2 separate regions of the Homo sapiens genome follow, and region 1 is linked to region 2. Evidence: promoter capture Hi-C in human tissues and cell types (Jung and others, 2019). All regions are on one chromosome and are shown on one strand. Each heading gives the region's core, a stretch centred on a gene start or on the middle of the fragment in contact. The rest is flanking DNA. Distances are from core to core; before and after follow the strand shown.

Region 1 (2,806 bases), core at 210-2,709, 52 kb before region 2:
GTTCAAGTAGTATAGATGCCAAGAATTCAAAGATGATTTAACATAAGAAAAATCTGTTAATATAATAGATTTAGAGAGTACAGAAAAATAGATTAAATGTGTACAAAAGAAAACAATTACACAATGCAGAAAAAACACTCAGCAAAAGTTCAGCTCTGATTTATGATGAAATCTTTCTGGACTCTAGCTGTTTCTACGTTGTTGCTCCATCGTTTCAATCTGTGGCTTCCATCACATGTTCCAAGATGTCTGCCCCTCCTGTTATGACACATTCCGGACAAGAGAAAGGGGAAAAGGGAAGGAGAATGGCGCATTCTCTCTCTGTCTATGCAGACACTTCCATCACTTCACTTTATATCTCTTTGATCAGAATTAGTCCCAGGGCCACAGATAGCTGCAAATGGGGCTGAGAAATGAACTTTATTCCATGAGGCCACATTCTTGCTAAAAACACAGGATTCTATTTTGTAGAGAAGGAGTCAGTAAACTTTGGCCCTCACCTGCTTCTGTAAATAAAGCTTTCTTTTTCTATTTTTTTTTTTTTTTCTGAGACGGAGTCTCTCTCCGTTGCCCAGGTTGAAGTGCAATGGCACAATCTCGGCTCACTGTAACCTCTACCTCTCAGGTTCAAGCAGTTCTCGTGCCTCAGCCTCCCAAGTAGCTGGGATTACAGACGTGCACCACTATGCCCGGCTAATGTTTTGTATTTTTTCTTTTTTTTTTTTTTTTAGTACAGACGGGGTTTCACCATGTTCGCCAGACTGTTCTCGAACTCCTGGCCTCAGGTGATCTGCCCATCTCAGCCTCCCAAAGTGTTGGGATTACAGGTGTGAGCCACCACACCTGGCCAGTTTTTTTTTTTTTTTTTTTTTTTTTTTTTTGCAACAAGGTCTGGCTCTGTCGCCCAGGCTGGAGTGCAGCGGCGTGATCTTGACTCACTGCAGCCTCTGGATCTTGACTCACTGCAGCCTCTGCCTTCCAGGCTCAAGTGATCCTCTTGCCTCAGCCTCCCAAGTAGCTGGGATTACAGGCGCAAGCCACCATACCCTGCTAATTTTTGTATTTTTTTGTAGAGACGGGGTTTCACCATGTTGCTCAGGCTGGTCTTGAACTCCTGTGCTCAAGTGATCTACCCGCCTTCGCCTCCAAAGTGCTGGGTTACAGGAATGAGCCACGGATCCCGGCCTGTAAATAAAGTTTTATCGGAACACAGCCATGCCTGTTTGTTTACATGTCATTTATGACCACAGCAACAGCAGAATTGAGTAGTTATGATAAAGACTGTATGACCTGGTAAGCCTAAAATACTTGCTATCTGGCCCTTTATAGGAGATGTTTCTGGACCTCTGGTGTAGCAAGAAGGGGATAATTGGTATTAGGGGTAATTAGAAGCCTCCGTTATAGTGCTATTATTGCTGTTCAGCATCATCCTGGGCATGGTAGCCAAACTGCACAAGACAGAAAAAGACATTAAAAGTTGTAAGAATTGGAAAGGAAGAGATAAAACAATATGCTCACCTATACAGAAAATCAACACCATCAACAAACAAACAAACAATTCGACCTAATAAGAGGCTTCGGCAGGTGTATTAGTCTATCACCACAATAACACATGAAGAACATACAAGAAGAAACTTAAATTCTTTCCAAATTAACATATACATTCAACGCAATAAAAATAAAATTTCAATTGATTTTCTTTTTGAGATGGATTCTCCCTCTGTCACCCAGGTGGGAGTACAATGGTGTAATCTCACCTCACTGCAACCTCCGCCTCCAGGTTCAAGCGATTCTCCTGCCTCAGCCTCTCAAGTAGCTGGGAGTACAGGTGCCCGCCACCACGTCCAGCTAATTTTTGTATTTTTAGTAGAGATGGGGTTTCACCGTGTTGGCCAGACTGGTCTTGAACTCCTGACCTCAAGTGATCCACCTGCCTCAAACTCCCAAAGTGCTGGGATTAGAGGAGTGAGCCACTGCGCCCGACCTCAATTGGATTTTTAAAAGCAATGCAACAACTTTAAAAAAAATATATGTGGCAAGATAAAAGTCAATATGGGAAAAAAAGGAGAAATTGGAGGAAGGGGGAACTAGCCTTATTAGACTTTAAAATATATTACAAAGCCATAGTAATAAAAATAGCACAGTAATGATACAAGAATAGACGGATAAACCAATGTTATAGAATAAAGAGCCGAGAGACAGAACTGTGCCTACATGGGAACTTAATATACAATAAAGGTAACATCTCAAATTGGTAGAAGAAAGACATTATTGGGAAAACTGGCTCACTCTATGAAGATAAGTAAAACTGGATTCATACCTAACATCACAGGCAAAGGTGGATGTTGGATAGATTGAAGACCTAAACATATAACATAAAATTACAGAACTAGTAGGAAAAAAGAAAGAAAGAAAAATCTATACTACTAAGAGTATAGAAGGGTTTCTTCTTCTTCTTTTTTTTTTTTTTGAGACAGAGTCTTGCTCTGTCGTCAGGCTGGAGAGCAGTGGCGTGATCTTGGCTCACTGCAACCTCTGCCTCCCAGGTTCAAGCAATTCCCCTTCTTAGCCTCCTGAGTAGCTGGGAATACAGGCATGCGCCACCACGCCCAGCTAATTTTTCGAATTTTAGTAGAGACGGGGTTTCACCCTGTTGGCCAGGCTGGTCTCCATCTCCTGACCTCATGATCCACCCACCTTGGCCTCCCAAAGTGCTGGGATTACAGGTGTGAGCCATCGCGCCCGGCTGAAGAGCTTGTTAAATAAGGCCTCCGAAGCACATTCCAAAAAGCCAAAAAAAATTTGT
Region 2 (2,975 bases), core at 336-2,835:
GTCAACCGTGTATTTCCAAACGCATTATTCTATTCACTCACTCACTCAGTAGATACTTGTTGAGCAGCTACTGTGTGGCAGGCACTGGGGATCCAGGAGAAAGTAACACATACAAATGCACCTGTGTGTGCGGGTGCTTGTGTGTATGTTCTGGATCACAGCATGAAATTCGTCTCTCGCTGTGGGCTGCAGTCAGAGAGCCCAGCGGCTGCTGCTGCCTGGTGGCTGGGTGGGAATGTCAGGGTACTGGGGGGGTGGCTACTTCCCATGTGGGTCAGCAAGTTACAAGAACAGAAAAGGCCTCTGTTTGAATTCCTTTTCGGCACCCGGGGAAACGAGCAGCTTTATAAGAAACCCTGCCCGTAGCCATCCGCCCAAGTTTGGTGAGGGTCAGAAAATCATGCACAAAAACTGTGTTTTCTTTCCCGAGCTATTGTTAGCGCAAGTGTAGACAGTCAGCCACGTTCCTTGCTTCATGGAAGCCAGTCTTCCTCGTAGGACCATGAAGACCTTTTCTTTTCTTTTTCTTTCTTTCTTTTTTTTTTCTTTGAGATGGAGTTTCTCTCTTGTTGCCCAGGCTGGAGTGCAATGGCGCAATCTTGGCTAATGCAACCTCCGCCTCCCAGGTTCAATCGATTCTCCTGCCTCAGCGTCCTGAGTAGCTGGGATTACAGGCCCCTGCCACCACGCCCGGCTAATTTTTGTATTTTAGTAGAGACAGAGTTTCACCATGTTGGCCAGGCTGGTCTCGAACTCCTGACCTCAGGTGATCCACCCACGTCGGCTTCCCAAAATGCTGGGATTACAGGCGTGAGCCACCGTGCCCGGCCAGACCTTTTGTTATGATGTTATTTTCCCCTCTTTACTCCATTTTGCTTTGCCAGTTTCTCTACTCACCTGGGCCACCACCTAGAGCAAGTTGCCTCATCTCTCCGAGGCTCCGCTTCCGAACCCTGTGAAATGGGAGTAACAGAAGTCCTGCCTCGTGGGGGTGTTGTGCTGTGATAAATGAAGAAACACCTTGGAGAATTTAGGGCAGTGGCTGGGCCTGAGGACAGTGTTTGTGTTGCCTGGGCTGGGGCAGGGTCTGGGCCGGACGGGGCTCTCTGAGGTTGGATTCCTCCTGCGAGGAGAGCTGTTTTTCTGCAAAGCCCCTTCCTCCTCCTGCTGAAGCTTCTGGATTTGAGAGGCTTTACTCTCCAGGAGAGTGAAGCGAGTTGGGCCAGAGCTGAGAGTCTGGTGGCCGAGCCCACAGGAAGCTGGGGTCTGTGGTTCAGATGCCGGATTGGGCAAGAGTAGAGAACTGGTCGCTGTGATCCTGGTCAGGGATATTTGGAGACACCCACAGTTCTGGTAAATTCGGAGGCAGGAAGTGAGAGGGGGAGGGAGAGAGGGAAACGGCAAACTGCACCCCAGCCCCTCCTGGCCTGGCACCCCTTCCAAATGGTGCAATGAGTGGGGTGAGTGGCGTGTGGAGTTGAGCGCAGCCCAGGGGACCCCCCTCTCTGGGAATAAGAACAGAGATAGCCCCGTCCCCTGCCCCCACCCCACAAATGAGTTACAGCTCTGTTTCCTCTTCTGTTTACTGTCCAAAGTCCCAGGCCAGGAGGTGCCAGGTTAGAGCTTGGACACTCAGACCCTCCAGTGCAGGCCTTGCCCGGACCAGCCCCTCCTCCACTCTCCTCTCCCCTGTGAGCTCCACCTGCCCCAGTTCTCCTGGCTTTAACCCCTCCTTGGCCAAGGCCAGGGTTGCCTGCGGGAGCCAGGTGTCCGCTCTCCACACCTTTCACAGGTAACTGAGGCTGGGGAGGCAACTGGGACGAGGATGCTTGGGAACAAGGAGGCCTTGGTTCAGGGATGGGGAGGACCCCATGGGAAGCTGTGGGTGGTCGGGTCCATGAGCGTGGGGAGGGGTCTCCTGGCCAGGTCAAGGCCCAAGCGGTCTCCTGAGAAGGGAAAGGACCCAGCGGGATTTCAAACCTCATCCCAAACGCCCTGCCAACCTCAGATCCTACCCAGGCCACCACCCCGAACCCCTCCGACCCTGCGTTCCATCCCACCATCAACCTCCACGTGAATCTGCACCTCTGCCCCAGCCCCAGCCCTCAGAGCAACCTCAGCCCAGCCCAGCCCAGCTCCAGCTCCAGCTCCAGCCCGGGCCCCATCATGGCCAAGGACTTTCAAGATATCCAGCAGCTGAGCTCGGAGGAAAATGACCATCCTTTCCATCAAGGTGAGGGGCCAGGCACTCGCAGGCTGAATCCCAGGAGAGGAAATCCATTTTTGAAAGGCAAGTGTGCAGTTTCTGCGGCTTTGCTCCCCCTCTGTCTCAGCTCATGATTGCTCTGTCCCTTTGAGGTCTCTGCCGCACCCACTCTGTGAACAGGGACTGAGGAGGGCCCGACACCCCCGCTTGTTCCCTCACCTCACCTTCCTGTCTACCCCAGGACCCCAGGAAAGGCATGTGCCAGAGGTGTGGGGAGATCTGGAAGATAACTGCCTGCCCTTCTCCTCCCAACCCAAGAACACATGTGCCTCGTATGTGCGTGTGCACGTATGTGCATATGAGGAATGCAGATTCAGCTGGGACTCTGTGTGTGTGTGTGAGTGAATGTTGTGTGTGTGTATATGTGCGCGAGAGCGTGCATATGTTGTGTGTGTGTATGTCGTGTATGTGAGAGGGTATGTTGTGTGTGAGAGTGTGTTGTGTGTGTATGTTGTGTGAGTATATGTTGTGTGTATCTTGTGTGTGAGTGTATGTTGTGTGTTGTGTGTGTATCTTGTGCATGTGTGTATGTTGTGCGAGTGTATGTTGTGTATGTGAGTGTGTGTATGTTGTGTGTATGTTGTGTGTATGTATGTTGTGTATGAGTGTGTGTATGTTGTGTGTGTGTACGTTGTGTATGTTGTGTGTGTGTTGTGTGTGTGTATTGTGTGAGTGTATGTATGTTTGTGTGTTGTGTGAGTGTTGTGTA

Evidence for each region. The method cuts DNA at HindIII sites, captures the fragments that hold promoters and counts their contacts. A contact is called where the count stands out against the background at its distance.
Region 1: a contact is called between a fragment that was not itself captured here and the fragment with the promoter of ASGR2 in region 2, in 1 of the 25 tissues and cell types used here (IMR-90 fibroblasts).

The regions. Positions count from the first base shown.
Region 1 is chr17:7,165,450-7,168,255 of GRCh38, reverse strand. No RefSeq gene overlaps it. Among named protein-coding and RNA genes, the nearest start is that of ASGR1, 13 kb to the left of the region's middle. The HindIII fragment of the contact is 4,369 bases long and covers 1-2,806 here.
Region 2 is chr17:7,113,432-7,116,406 of GRCh38, reverse strand. It overlaps ASGR2 (asialoglycoprotein receptor 2), which reads left to right and starts at 1,585. Exons shown (of 9, transcript NM_001201352.2): 1 at 1,585-1,792; 2 at 2,097-2,290. The coding sequence starts at 2,167. RefSeq lists an enhancer at 647-1,433. The HindIII fragment of the contact is 7,513 bases long and covers 1-2,975 here.